4 separate regions of the Homo sapiens genome follow, and all the other regions are linked to region 1. The links are contacts of gene promoters, found by promoter capture Hi-C in blood cells and fetal thymus (Javierre and others, 2016). All regions are on one chromosome and are shown on one strand. The core of a region is centred on a gene start or on the middle of the fragment in contact, and the rest is flanking DNA. Distances in the headings are between cores, read along the strand shown.

Region 1 (3,321 bases), core at 64-2,563:
CAAACCAGCACAGGGAGAGAGGCAATTTTTCGAAACGCTTAAGAAGCTTTAAACTACAAGAGCTATGCTACCTAAACTGAGCTCACTAACAACGTAAAATTTCAAGTCACACCTTGCCTATTTCTGAGTAAGCAAGCAAACACTAGTGAGACAAACTAGAAGCATGGAGCAAAGCAAGTCATTTCTATGCTAACCTTAATTCCTATCGTAAAGGGGTTGGCTCCATCAAAAAATATTCCTATTTCAGTATTAACACAAGTTTCAAATAAAGCACACTTGCCATTGGTAATTCTAGAGCGACAAGGCGCATAATTAATAAATCCAAACGGAGCATCTTTCTATAGAATACAAAGCCATCTGCAGTTTCAGCCTCGGTTTACCCACTCACTATGCATATGCAGACGTCTTTAAAAATAAATAAATAAATACACAAATAAACTTTATCTGGCCTGAGAGATTACATCTCTCGGTGCTTCCTGTATATTCTGGAAGTCAATAACGCTGAAGGTAAATTTAACATTTCCAACTCCGGAGGAACGCGAGCGGTAGACGCCAAGCATCCGCCCACTGTCCTCTCGTGACTCGGGCTACTTTGACGCACCGGGATGCGGCTCACCTGACATTCGGCACCAACCCTTGCCAGGAAGGAAAACCAACTCCGCGAAAATAAAATGGGTCCCCGAGGAGGCGTGCGGGTGCCCCCAGAGCTCTCTTCTGCTCACACCCCGAAAGCGAGGGGGCCACGCCACCCCCGACCCTCGCCGGCGTCCGCCACCTGCCAGACGAGGCCGCGGCCAGGGACCCGGGCTCGGCCGCAAGGAAGGGGCAGCCCAGCCCAGGCCCCCTCGGCGTCTGTCCCGGCCCGGCAGCAGAGGAAGGAACCCGGGGCCGGAGGTTTCCGCCCCGCACGGCCGAGCCCGCCAGGGGCCTAGCTCGGGGGCCGCCCGTACTCCCGAGGACCCGTCCCCATCGTGCGGAGCGCACAGCCGCCTCAGCCCGACCCGCAGAGCCTCCGGGCAGCGGGCGCGGCGCCCGCACCTGCCCCGCGCCTTGCTGCAGCCCCGCTAGCGGCTTCACCCACCTGGCGCCCTCGCCGCGCCTCCCGCTCGTCACAGCGCGACTCCGCGTCCCTCAGCACCGGCAGCCTGGGCGCGGGCAGGCGCGGGGAGACCCTGCTCTGCCGCCGTCGCCGCCACTGCAGCTGGCTTGGTCGTCAGGCCGCCGCCCGCGAACCTGTTGCGTAGCCTGTCACAGCCGCTCAGGGCTCCGCCGGCGCCGCCTCAGCCCCACAACAACATGGCGGCCGCGGCCTCCGCAGGAAGCCGGGGGGCGGGGAGGTAGGCGCCGGGCCGGGCAGCTGACGGCCCGCCCGCTGCCGGGCACCGACTCCCCACCCTCCGGAGCCCGAAACTGCCCGGGCGTGGCTCCTCGCCCCAGGAGTTCCGGGGCATTGAACCCTGAAGGTCTGCTCCGAGTCGGTCGGGTCCGAAGCGCTCCTCTCTGCCCTCGGGGAGGCCCCGAAGCCCCAGACCTGGCAGCCCTTCCTGGAGTTGCACAGACCCACCTGGCTCCTCCTCCCCGAGGTAACATGCTGAGCTTGGGTGGTGCTTTTCCTGCCACGGCAGACGCCGGGGTTTTGGAAAGTCCCAAGCAGTGCCTGCCACATCCCTGTTGCACCCACCACGGGGTTCTCCCTGGAACCTTCTCACTCGCCGAAGTTTTCTCCACTGATCTGGGGGAACGAATTCTCTGGGAATTGGGGGGTGGAAGGTGGGAAGGAGGTTGATCCCACCCTTGCCCATGGGTCTGTTACAGGCCTCTTGAACCCTTCTCAGGGACCTGGAGGACTTAACCATACCCTCGGTCATCCATTCACCATTCCTCGCCCTCCTCCATAACACACGCGGAGCGCCCACGAGGAGCACCCTCTACGCTAGTCACACTCCGCCGAGCAGTAGGAAGACTCTGTCCCCATAGAGCATAGCACGACGAAGCTAAACTTTCCTCCCCACCCCTCGCCAAGGGACAGGCGAAGCTCCTACTCAGAATTTGTCTCTTTTCTCCCCTCCCGGTTCCTGGTCTCCTCACAAAAGACCAGACTTCAACTCAAGCCGCCACCGTATCCCAAAACCCCAAAGGTTTGCCCTTGACAAGAAGCTTCTTCAAGGGGAAAGGCTTTCTTTTGATTGGGGTGAGGGAGGAGTTAGTGTTTCCTAATGAACGTAACCAAATGTCGGCCTGGCACAGTGGCTCACGCTTGTAACCCCGGCACTTTGGGAGGCCGAGGCAGGTGGATCATCTGAGGTCAGGAGTTGGAGACCAGCCTGGCCAACATGGTGAAACCCCGCCTCTTCTAACAATACAAAAATTAGCTGGGCGTGGTGGCGGGCGCCTGTAGTCCCAGCTACTCGGAAGGCTGAGGCAGGAGAATCGCTTGAACCTGGGAGGCGGAGGTTGCAGTGAGCAGAGATTGCACCACTGTACTCCAGCCTGGGCGACAAGAGCGAAACTCTGTCTCAAAAAAAAAAAAGTAACCAAATGTAAGACTCAAGATTTTTGGATATAAGACCCAAGATTTCTTTTTTTTTTTTTTTTTTTTTTTTTTTTTTTCCTGAGACAGACTCTCACTCCGTTGCCCAGGCTGGAGTGCAGTGGCGCAACTGTGAGATCTGTGCTCACTGCAACCTCCGCCTCCCAGGTTCAAGCAATTCTCCTGCCTCAGCCTTCCAAGTACCTGGGATTACAGGCACTTGCCACCACGCCCGGCTAATTTTTGTATTTTTAGTAGACACTGGTTTCACCATGTTGGCCAGGCTGGTCTCAAACTCCTGACCTCAGGTGATCCACCCGCCTCATCCTCCCAAAGTGCTGGGATTGGCGTGAGCCACCACGCCCGGCCAAGACCCAAGATTTATTTTGGCTTTTAGAAGCAGGGTGAGGGCTGGTCTGGGGTCCAAAACTCATATCCCTTGATTTGATCTGTGTAGATCAAATAACCCCTGGCATCCTTTCATTCCTTACCTGTTGAGGCAGGTGAAGGTGAGATGGCTCCAAACCCAGGCCTATCTGAACTGGCCAGCCAGCTTAGGAGGAATTTACCAAACATCGATGATGATAAACAGGCTTTTCCCGCTCTCACACTCAGTGTTTTTCCTAACTCTTCGATTAGAACCTGACCAAGACCTGACAGACAGGTCCTGAGCTTCAGTGACACAGAGAAGCCTGACTCTTTTATCAGTCTAGGAGGCCCCTCACTTGCTGGGGACCAGCCAATCTGTCCTTATCTGCAAACAAACCACCCAGGCCAAGGATAGCAATCTT
Region 2 (3,822 bases), core at 1,273-3,772, 530 kb after region 1:
TGACGTCCTCAGCATGTCACCAACTGGCCTCCTGACCTCGGCACATGCTGTAGCCCCTATTTTGAGAGCTCTTAAACTTCCCCACGAAAGTGCCTGGGGAGGAAGCTTCTCATTTTACTTGCTAATATATGTGGATTCTGCATTCTGTTCAATAAAATCCATGTTTGTATTTGTATTTTTAAGTGTTTAAAAATATTTGCCAAACAGATGTCTCCACCTGTTTCAGTGTAAGTGCCACTAGGGCAGGGACGACATCTGTCCCAGTCCCCACTGTGTTCCCAGCACTCAGTAGCACCCAGCACGCTGTCTGCTGGGTGAAGGAATGAATACATGGAGGACACAGGATGAAAGGAAATGCCAACTCCACGGTCATCCTGTGGCTTCACATGCGCCAAAGCAAACACAACCCTGCACCCCCAATGTGGGAAGCACGCACTTAGAATGCCCCTCCCCACCTGGCCGCCTTCCGCCTCCCCCTCGAAATCTAGCTGAACCCCGCCTCCTCCATCGAGCCCACCTGAGCCTCCTTGCGCTACATCATGTTTAGCAAACACGCCTCACCTCCACCCGGACCTTGCAAAGGGCCAGGTGGGAAGATAAACCTCCCTAAGATCTTCCCACAAGACCTGGGCACAGAACCCAGTCACCTCACTCTGCCCTCCTGCTTCGCCTTGACACAGAAACTCTGAAGCTCAGGGTCATGACAACCAGGAATGAAGGGAGAAGACCCCCGCCCCGAGATGGGTGTGAGCTGCGCTGCCAGGCCAGTTCTCGCCACTCATCATCCAGCTCCCAGCAGCGCAAAAGCTCTACTCTCCTTAGAAACTGGAGCTGGTTCCGGGCGATGCCCACGGACTCACTGCTCTCACTCACTCGGATGAGCCTGCCCTGGGGAGGGGAAGGGGGAAGCCCAGCTGGCAAGGAGGCTGCCATGTGCCCTGAGTGGGTGAGGTTAGCTGCTGCACAAGGCAAGCCGGTCCCTGGGGCTCTGCTAGGCAGATGCTGGGCCTGGCTGGCACAAAGGGGTGCAAATCACCAACTCGACAGTCCCCCACAAGTGACACCCCGTGGCTCACTCTTGGTCTTAACTTCTCCCTAGCAGCCCCAGCTTTCTTCCTGTATTAGTCCGTTTTTGTACTGCTATAAATAACTGCCTGTGACCGGGCAATTTATAAAGGAAAGAGGTTTAACTGACTCACAGTTCAGCATGGCTGGGAAGGCCTCAGGAAATTTACAATCATGGCGAAAGGGTCACAAAACACCTCCTTCACAAAGCAGCAGGAAGACGTGCCGAGCGAAAGGGGAAGAGCCCTTTATAATACCATCGGATCTTGTGAGAACTCACTCACTATCACGAGAACAGCATGGGGGAAACCACCCCATGATTCAACTACCTCCACCTGGTCTCTCCCTTGACACGTAGGGATGATGGAGATTACAATTCAAGATGAGATTTGGGTGGGGACGCAAAGCCTAACCGTATCACTTACTCTCTCTAGCCTTCCACCTGCGAGCTCCACGGCTCCTTTCCCTCGGAGACCAGGCCAGCCACTGCACCTGGGGGGATTTTCACAGCCTGGGAACACTCGGGGCTGCCAAGAGGTCGAAAACCAGGCCAAGTCCCGAGGGGTTCACCGGCATCATGCAGCGATAGCCGTGATGGCTCCTGAGGGTGCCTGGTTCCCCCGGCATCTGGCTCTGTGGGCCCCCATGACCACGTGTCCCAGCCCACTCCCCCCCGACACACACACCTCCTCTCGGTGAGGCCAACACTCGGGGCAGGAAAGCATGGCGGTGAAGAATGCAGCTCCAAACTCAGGCTGGAGTGGAATTTCATCTCCATCATGGGCCTGGGCCTTGGAAGTTGCCACACTTTAAACTCGCTGCCTCCCCTGCGAAATGCAAATAACCACAGGCCCATCTCAGGGTGGGTTGGAGACTCCTCTATGATGTGTGTAAAGAGCCCAGCATCAGACTGTGCCAGATACACAATACATCTAAGTGTTACCTATTATTGTTAGGCATATTATAAATTCCCAAGGTTACTCCTGAATTTATTCCCAATTCTCCAGCTTTCTGAGTCTGCTTGAGTGAGTCAAGGTCATTTTCATCACCTGGGAAGGCAATGTGTGTCAATGGTCCCCAAATTTGGCTGTGCTGACATTCTAAGGCTCCATCCTCAAACACTGCCTTGTACACAGTAGGTCCTCTGTATCCACAGATTCAACAAAACTCAAATTTCATCACAAACATTCAAACACATTCGGAACATCAAAAACATTCAAACCACAACAGCTCTCAAGTAAGTTCCCATCCCCTGGTCCTCCCCCATTGCCTGTCCAGCCTCTGAGGTGGAATGCTGCCTGTGTCACTGTGCACTGGCTGGGTTTTGGGCCCTGCAGTGTAGCTGCACATCCTGGCCCCAGGACCCTGCCACCCAGCTGGACGGCTCAGCTCCTGTCCCATCCCTTTCCACGTCTCATTATCGGGAAGACCCTCATGGCAGTGCCAGCAGCTGCTAGAGCCACCTGCCGGTGCTGAACTGACCGACTACCTCCCAGCCCACAGTGGCTGCCTGTGTCTGGGGACACCAATTAACCTTCACACCATTAGTCAACAAGTCCTCCTCCAGCCCCTACAACAGGAGGGAGTGTGATGCCGTGGAATAAGCACTGTCTTTGGAGCCAAACTGGCTTGTGTTCTATCACTCCTTAGAAAGTCCCTTAAAACCTCCCTCTGCAACCTTCTCACATGGAAAATTGCCTCACATGGCAATTAGTATTTCTTGGCTCATATGTATATATGTATTTTATTTTACCAAAATGGTGGAAAGGGCCTGGTGTGGTGGCTCAGGCCTGTAATCCCAGTACTTTGGGAGGTCAAGGTGGGTAGATCACCTGAGGTGAAGAGTTTGAGATCAGCCTGACCAATATGGTGAGACCCCGTCTCTACTGAAAATACAAAAATTAGCCGGGCATAGTGGCATGTGCCTGTAGTCCCAGCTACTCGGGAGGCTGAGGCAGGAGAATTGCTTGAACCCGGGAGGCAGAGGTTGCAGTGAGCTGAGGTCACACCACTGCACTCTAGCATGGGCGACAGAGCGAGACTCTGTCTCAAAAACAAAAACAGTGGAAAGGCTGCAGAAAACTCAACTGTTTTTATTTCATTTATTGATACACGCACCTTCTGCTAACACTATCTTCAGCTTATAATGCGTGAGGAAGGAATGAAAGCTATTAGGGTGTGTCCTACCTTCCCTTTTATTTCTGTGTCATTAATTTCAGCATTAAATGGTTGGCCAATACAGGGAAGCAGCATGGGATGTTCATGTTTCTGAGAATGTCACTGCCTTCTTTCTGTATTTGAAGCAAGTTCTAGTTTGAACAGAAAGCACAAAATCTCAGAGCTGTCAGTACCTCTACTTACTCAGCTGTGGATGCGACATGTTATTTTGCGCTTGTTTTGCATCTTGCTCAACTCCCAGACATTGTGAATTCACCAGAACTCCATGTTGCCGGGGCATCACACACAAATATGCAAATGACACAAAAACATATGGCAGGTACTCATCTTGTATGTATTTCTTCAGTACATATGCATGTTCCATTGTCTCAGCAGGCTTCAGCTGCAAAACATAAGTTCAAAAATAAAACTGTTGGCTGGGCACAGTGGCTCACGCCTGTAATCCTGCCCAGCACTTTGGGAGGCTGAGGCGAGTGGGCCACTTGAGGTCAGGAGTTTGAGACCAGCCTGGCCAACGTGGTGAAATCCCATCTCTAATAAAAATACAAAATTGGCCAGGCGTGATGGCACATGCCTGTA
Region 3 (3,350 bases), core at 301-2,800, 530 kb before region 1:
GATCTATCTCACAAATAATTCTTCAGATAACCAAATTTACCACTAGTGTCTCGTTTTATTTTCTATTTCTCAAAGAAACCTGGAAAAAAATTATCTTTTCCTTTTGCATATATACCCATTTCATTAATTCAATAATGTATAGAACACTAGCTCAAAGTTATAAAGAGTTAACAAAGTAATCTAAGTATATGATTATAGAATGTGAATTATGTCTTCCATTTCCGAGGAAATAGGAATATACTACCATCTTCAAACAACATAAACAATCACGTTTCTATTTCTTCTTTAAAAGGATATACACAGTTAATGAACATATTATATGGTCCTATTTTAAGTGCAAAAGCCTAAGTTTAAAAAAATTAAAACTCAGAAACTATTAGGCAAAACAAATAATTAGCCACTAGAAGGCATTTTAGGTAGTAAATGTTACCCATAACATTTATGTTTGCCACAACATGTTAATTACATATATAACAGCAATGTATTATTTATTGATTTATTCCAGACAAAGAAATGATCAATAGACCCCATTTAATGAAGTAGATTTTCACATTAATTATTATAACCAACAGACTTATAAAGAAGGAAATTTTTTTACATTCGCTTATAAGTAAGAATTACCAGTTTATATCTGTGGTTCTCACCTTGATTATCCATCTGAATAAACACTGAAACTGAAACAAAAAAAAACAGATTCCCAAGCCCCACAATAAACCCAGTGAATCAGAATCTCTGGGGGCTTGAAATCATATGTGCATTTCAAGAAAGCTTTAGAAGTGACTCTGATACACACAAAATTGAGAACTACTGATTTAACATACTTCCTTCTAAAACTTTAAAATTGCATCATAACCATGGCTAAATGGGTTATACTTAGGGTAACCACATGTGCTGGTTAGGCCTCTTGTCCTGTCATAATAGCACATCTTTTCACTCTCAAAGCGTCCTTGTTTAGAAAATAAATAATATGATCATTCTAGTAATACTGAAAATATACTACAGCCTTTTAGGCGTTAAAAGTTAATATTAAAGAAATTATAAACATCCCTTTCATAACCATACTAAATCTACCATTACAATTCTAATACTCTGTGAACACATTTAGTTATCAAATAAAGAGCATTCCTGAATACTGCTATTAAGCTAGAAATTGTTCTAAAAAGACTGAAAATACAGCTACTAAAGAGGTTAGACTAGAAACAAGGTCATAACAAAATTTTATAAAGTTTTAAGTACAGCATCACACATAATGAAGGCCCACAAGATAAGTCACTTCATTGAGACTCTTTCATTGTTTTAGCCCTCTCATTGAAAATGGAATAGAAAAATATGATTAGAGTTGAGTGTTTCATTAATCATAAGTTTCCTACTATTTATGCAAATGTTCCTGATATCAATGTATGTTGAGTTTTTCACTATGCAAAAATCACACCCAATATGCATGCAAAAACCTCTAAGAACTTGGGAATTTCAAGGTAAAAGTTACCAAATCCATAACCTCTAACAAAAGGTCAGCTATCTTCACAGCTGTTCATCATACTCTATGAGGCATAAATTTCAATGAACTGAACCTATTCATGTTAAAACATGTTTGGCATACACAGACTAGTGAGTTTGTAATGGATTTAAAATTACTATTTCACGCCCGTTTGAAGATCTGAATTTGATTTTTTTTTTAATGTGAACCGGTTTCTCAGATGGAATGAATGTCATAACAAAAAACAGAAGTCATTTAATTATAATGGATTTTTATGTCACTGTCCAGGAAGAAAATGGTATATAAGCAGAGTCTGCACACATACTACCACCCCACAGAGGGGAGGGAAAAAAGGTAAGAGAAATTTATCAGTCCTGTAAGAAATTATACCATGAAAATTTTAAAACTTAAGAAACTGCCTAAAAGCTAAAAAAATCACTGGGAAAAATGAGAAGTATTGTCTTTGGAAATGCAAAAGGAAACTAAGATTCTAATATTTGGGGTGAAGAATTAAACTAGAGTATATAATATTTCAGATGGTAGACAGTATAATAGAAAGTAATTTAGAGTACCTATCTCTTAGGGAATTTCCAAAATGATTTGACAACTTGACTTCTGCTTATTTCAGTTAAGGATCATTCTGTGACAAATTCACAGAAAAATCTACAAAGATTTCCCAGTCCGATCTGAACTCTAGTAAAATATCATCATAAATAAAAGGGGTCTATTTTCAAAAAGGGAAAAGACTGGATTTTATACCAAATACCACCCTCTCCCATAAAGCAGCACAAGGCTTTGCAAAGGTCAAGCCAAATTTACATGAAATGTGTTTGGCGCATGCTCTCTTATACCAGGCAAAGCTTAAACTGAAGTAGTGCTGGAGAGATTTACGTTTTCTCCTCACCAGAAGATGTCGAGGTCTTTGTGGTTCAAAAGCTGAGGGATGCTGCTTCGGAGATGGAGGTCCCTGTGGATGAAGAGGATAATTTGGATGTAGCTAACTGAATGGACTAATGTTCTATTTAAGTTTTAATTATTTGATGGTGGATCACAATGATTTTTTAAATTAAGTTGTTCTTTTTGGCTTTGGTAACTTTAAAGTTTTCCCAAGTAAGCTGTTGTTAGTGGACTTATTTGGGGGATTTCTTCATAATGCTTAAAAAGTTCATGAAGATTGGGTTTTTTTTTTTTTATTTATATTTTTCAGAGTATGAGAGGAAAACAGACAAAAGAGGGGGAAAGAATGAAGGAGAAATACCTATGTGTATATTCAGGTGCCTAACATTGTATTCCTTTTTATTTCAGACCTAATTAGAGCCAAAACCCTGAATTCCATCTCCTATGTGTGATCATCTGTGCAGATAAACACTCTCACCACATCCTAGAAGGACAGTAGTGTTCATTCACTCTGTGGGGAGATCTTCCACTCTGTGAAAAATTTAAAGTTAAACTGGAAAGTTTTATATTTGGGGAACTACTACCAAATATAATTAACTATTTTCTTTGAAGACCTCTCCCACCCAACTTCTTTCTAGACCACAGGAATGAAAATAAGCCCGTTGTGTAATCTGCAAAGTAAAAGTAAAAGGCTGCAGTCCTGCTTTGACATGGACCTTTCTCTCTCAAGTTCAAGCTTATTTTTCTTAGTAAAATTTCTAAGAGGGAATGATATTCAAAAGGAGACCCTGTATTAATATTATGGATACCCAGCACTCAATGAAAGGCATGTTATTATTGAGCTTTGTTAACTAAACACCTAATGGCAGTTAAAATTCTAATTTAGAAGTACTCAAACTTTAAGTGAAACAGTCAAAATAACTTTAAAACATAAAGGTAGAGACAATCTATTGCACAATCAAAAACATAACTATGC
Region 4 (3,597 bases), core at 795-3,294, 680 kb after region 1:
ACATTGGGCATCTTGTATTTTTATTTTTTTGAGACAGAGTCTCACACTGTTGCCCAGGCTGGAGTGCAGTGGCGCGATCTCGGCTCACTGCAACCTCTGTCTCCTGGGTTCAAGTGATTCTCCTGCCTCAGCCTCCTGGGTAGCTGGGATTACAGGCGCCTGCCACCATGCCCGGCTAATTTTTGTATTTTTAGTAGAGATAGGGTTTTGCCATGTTGGCTAAGCTCGTCTGCTAACCCTAGAGCTGACAGGAAGGCTTTTGGGTTGGGCGGTTTTACGGGGAAAATACTCTGTAACAGCGTTTTTCCTTTACTCTCACATCACAACAATCAACGCAGAAGAGTTATGACCAAATGTCGGGGTGGGGGGGGGGCGTTTCCCCACACACCAAGCAGCTGGGTGTCCTCTAATGCAGTCTGACACTGAAAAGTAGTGTCAGATCCCACATTGGAGGGCTCAGTCCCCAAGACTGTTCCCCCAACACCAGTTGTAAGTCCAGACCTCCAGAACTTCTGACCAACTGGCTTCAAGTTGGGGTTCCCGTGACTCCCTCTTCGGGTTCAATTAATTTGCTGAAGTTGTTCAGAGGGACTGAAATTTACAAAGGTCAGAGATGGTAGAGGAAAGAGTATGGTAAGTGTGGTGTGCAAGCCCATCTAGTGGGAGCACAGTTGAGGAGGGAACAGGAGGTGGAAGCCAGGTGGGAAAGGAAGTCTGGGGCCCTGTTGGAAGGACCTTGAATGCTGTGTTGTTATGATAGACAGTTTTCCTCCATGATTCCTGGCTCATAACTCCCATAGCCCTTGTTACAGTCTTTTGTTGTAATATTGAGTGTGTTAGGCCACAGGAAACAGACTCTCTCCTTCTCCTGCCCTCCTTTCACCTGCCCCCAGGCAGGACTCTAATCTTTCCTGGACTTTCCAATGGTTGTTCTTAAGACCATTCCCAGAGAGGTTCCCACCCTATACCCCGGGGGAAGGAATGCTGACGTTATAAAGCTTTCATAAAAACCCAAGCGGACAGGGTTCAGGGAGCTTTGGGATAACTGAACACATCGAGGTTCCTGGAGGGTGGTGCCTGGGGGAGGGCTTGGAAGCCCTGTGCCCCTCCTCCCACACCTGAATTGTTTTTTCTTTTTCCCTTCATGAAACTCTTCCCTGCTCCTTGTATGTGCCTCCATAGTCATTATAAGATTTTATGATAATTTTTACATGTCTCCCCGCTCCTAAGTACCTTCCACAGTGTCTAGCATGTCATAGGGAGTGATTGGTAAATAGCTGATAGAAAGAACAAATTAAACTATCAGCCTTGTGAATTTTCTAAATAGAGGTCTGTACTTCTCATGCAGAATTGACTATGTTTTTTTCCTGCCCAGTAATTTTTTTTTTTTTTTTTTTTTTTTTTTTGAGACAGTGTCTCACTCTGTCGCCCAGGCTGGAGTGCAGAGGCACAATCTCAGCTCACTGAAATCTCCGCCTCCCAGGCTCAAGCGATTCTCCTGCCTCAGCCTCCCGAGTAGCTGGGACTACAGGCATGCACCACCATGCCCGGCTAATTTTTGTATTTTTAGTAGAGATGTGGTTTCACCATGTTGGCCAGGCTGGTCTTGAACTCCTGATCACAGGTGATCCACCTGCCTTGGCCTCCCAAAGTGCTGGGATTACAGGTGTGAGCCACCACGTCTGGCCTCAAGTAATGTTTTTATCAGTATTCATCTGGAATTCCCTGCTAGACCTTTCATTCTTTGAAGACAGACACTGCATTTCCTTCTGTACTGTAGACACCAATGTTTCATGAGTATATTTTGTGTTGAGCAGAATTGTGGGAAGGGAGTGTCTCTGGGTGATCATATCAAGCTAGAGCTGAGATTCTCCTTCCTGCTCCAGTTCAAGTCTGACTCTCAGTCAATCTTAAAGCCACCTGGCCTGGTCCTGGAACTGAAGAACAGAGACAGAGGTTATTTGTGAGATGCAGGGAGTGTGTGCCCGGGGTAGGGGGGTCTAGACTAAATGTGTGTTCCAGGAACCATCCCAGGGTTTCCCTTGGGGCTGGCATGCTGCTAAGAGAGTCAAAGAGGTCAAGGAAGAAGAAGAAAACCTGGAAACAGCAAGAGAGTGGGGCGCGGGCGGGAGGTGGAGGCCCAGGCCAGAGAAAAATAGGAAACATAAGTTTTGAGTGCAACAGACTGAGCACTGTTTCAAGAGTCTGGCAACCTGGATTCTTTCTCTGGCTCTGTTCCTGCCTTGAGCCATGAAGGAAGGAAAAAATATACATGAGTGCCCACTGTGTCATTTCATGTAGATTTTATTCCAGTTTCCCAACAGTCCTGCAGGAAGCTGGGGTTGAGAGAGTAGATCATTGGCCTACAGACACACAGCCCAGCCTAACAACATAAATTAACCTCTCAACGTTAAATGAAGTAAAATGAAGTTCAGTTCTTAAGTATCTTTAAGTTCCTTTCCTCTCTAACTTCTACTAGTAGAATATTTCTACCAGTAGAAAAAAACAAAAGAAAACCCAAACAACTCTCAACCATGGGCCAAGAGAAACTAAGAAATCGATATTGAAAGGCCAGGAGGGGCAGGAGAAGTGGCTCAGGCCTGTAATCTCAGCACTTTGGGAGGCCGAGGCGGGCGGATCACTTGAGGTCAGGAGTTCCAGACCAGCCTGGCCAACATGGTGAAATCCCTTCTCTACCAAAAAATACAAAAATTAGCCGGGCGTGGTGGCACGCACCTGTAGTCCCAGCTACTCTGGAGGCTGAGGTGGAAGAATCGCTTGAACCCAGGAGGCGGAGTTTGCAGGGAGCCGAGATAGTGCCACTGTACTCCACCCTGGGCGAGAGTGAGACTCCATGTCAAAAAAAAAAAAAAAAAAAAAAAAAAAAAAAAAAAAGACGGGAACGTGTGCAATGTAAAGAAGGCTGGATGAGAAGCCCAGGGAAGTCCTGAGCTAGCTTAGGAGAGATCTTCAGGTGTGGGCGTAGGCATGAGCCGCTGCCTCTCTGTGCCTGTTCCTCATAGGGTCACGGCAGGTGCAGAGCTGGAATTCAAGTCGGCGCTGGGGCTCAGCTGGAGAGGATCCTGGCGGCAAAGCTTGCGAATTACACATATAAATCAGGGAGAGGAAAAGCAAGCGGACTTCCTGCAGCCCTTGGGGGTTGGGAGTGGGGTGCGTTTCCTGCGTCCCTGACCCGGGAAGGACGCTGTTTGGTGGTAGCAAGCACCTAGCCAGAGAGTGGCTGGGCACCTAGCCAGAGAGTAGCTGGTAGGGCGCAGCTGAGGGCTGGAGGGCTTCATCAGAGAACGGCGCTCAGCTAAGGTACCTAGCCAGGAGAGGGTGGAAGTCATTCCCCAATTCCCATCCTTGCGCCCCCCGGCTTAGCCCACGCAGCCTGGACAGAACTGGAGGAGGGGTGCACCTGCAGCTCTCAGCGCCCCGGCTGACCTCGAGGACCCCAGGTTAGGGAGAGCTTCCGAGCGCTCCGACAGGAGCAGGGAGTTGGGGTGGGTAGCTCCGCAGGTGCACGCTGCGGCCCTTAGGGCGACAGCCTCGGAAAAGGCGCATCTCCGGCTGTGGGTTTCTCGGGGGCGGGGC

What was found. Contacts are between HindIII fragments. The CHiCAGO score rates a contact against its expected background, and 5 or more counts as called.
Region 2: a contact is called between a fragment that was not itself captured here and the fragment with the promoter of ITSN2 in region 1, in 2 of 17 cell types (M1 macrophages and M2 macrophages). The highest score is 5.4, in M1 macrophages.
Region 3: a fragment that was not itself captured here is called in contact with the fragment with the promoter of ITSN2 in region 1 in 1 of 17 cell types (M1 macrophages); the score reaches 5.0 in M1 macrophages.
Region 4: a contact is called between a fragment that was not itself captured here and the fragment with the promoter of ITSN2 in region 1, in 1 of 17 cell types (fetal thymus). The highest score is 5.3, in fetal thymus.

Annotation. Positions count from the first base shown.
Region 1 is chr2:24,359,223-24,362,543 of GRCh38, forward strand. ITSN2 (intersectin 2) reads right to left here and starts at 1,314. Exons shown (of 40, transcript NM_006277.3): 1 at 1,082-1,314. RefSeq lists silencers at 728-1,127, 1,138-1,187, 1,198-1,497 and an enhancer at 1,598-1,747. The HindIII fragment of the contact is 2,111 bases long and covers 45-2,155 here.
Region 2 is chr2:24,885,894-24,889,715 of GRCh38, forward strand. All of the region lies in intron 2 of ADCY3 (adenylate cyclase 3), which reads right to left. Among named protein-coding and RNA genes, the nearest start is that of ADCY3, 32 kb to the right of the region's middle. The HindIII fragment of the contact is 4,838 bases long and covers 104-3,822 here.
Region 3 is chr2:23,825,417-23,828,766 of GRCh38, forward strand. All of the region lies in intron 15 of ATAD2B (ATPase family AAA domain containing 2B), which reads right to left. Among named protein-coding and RNA genes, the nearest start is that of ATAD2B, 100 kb to the right of the region's middle. The HindIII fragment of the contact is 1,569 bases long and covers 767-2,335 here.
Region 4 is chr2:25,038,380-25,041,976 of GRCh38, forward strand. DNAJC27-AS1 (DNAJC27 antisense RNA 1) reads left to right here. Exons shown (of 3, transcript NR_034113.1): 3 at 1-1,315. Among named protein-coding and RNA genes, the nearest start is that of EFR3B, 1.9 kb to the right of the region's middle. RefSeq lists an enhancer at 2,705-3,597 and a silencer at 3,561-3,597. The HindIII fragment of the contact is 2,097 bases long and covers 997-3,093 here.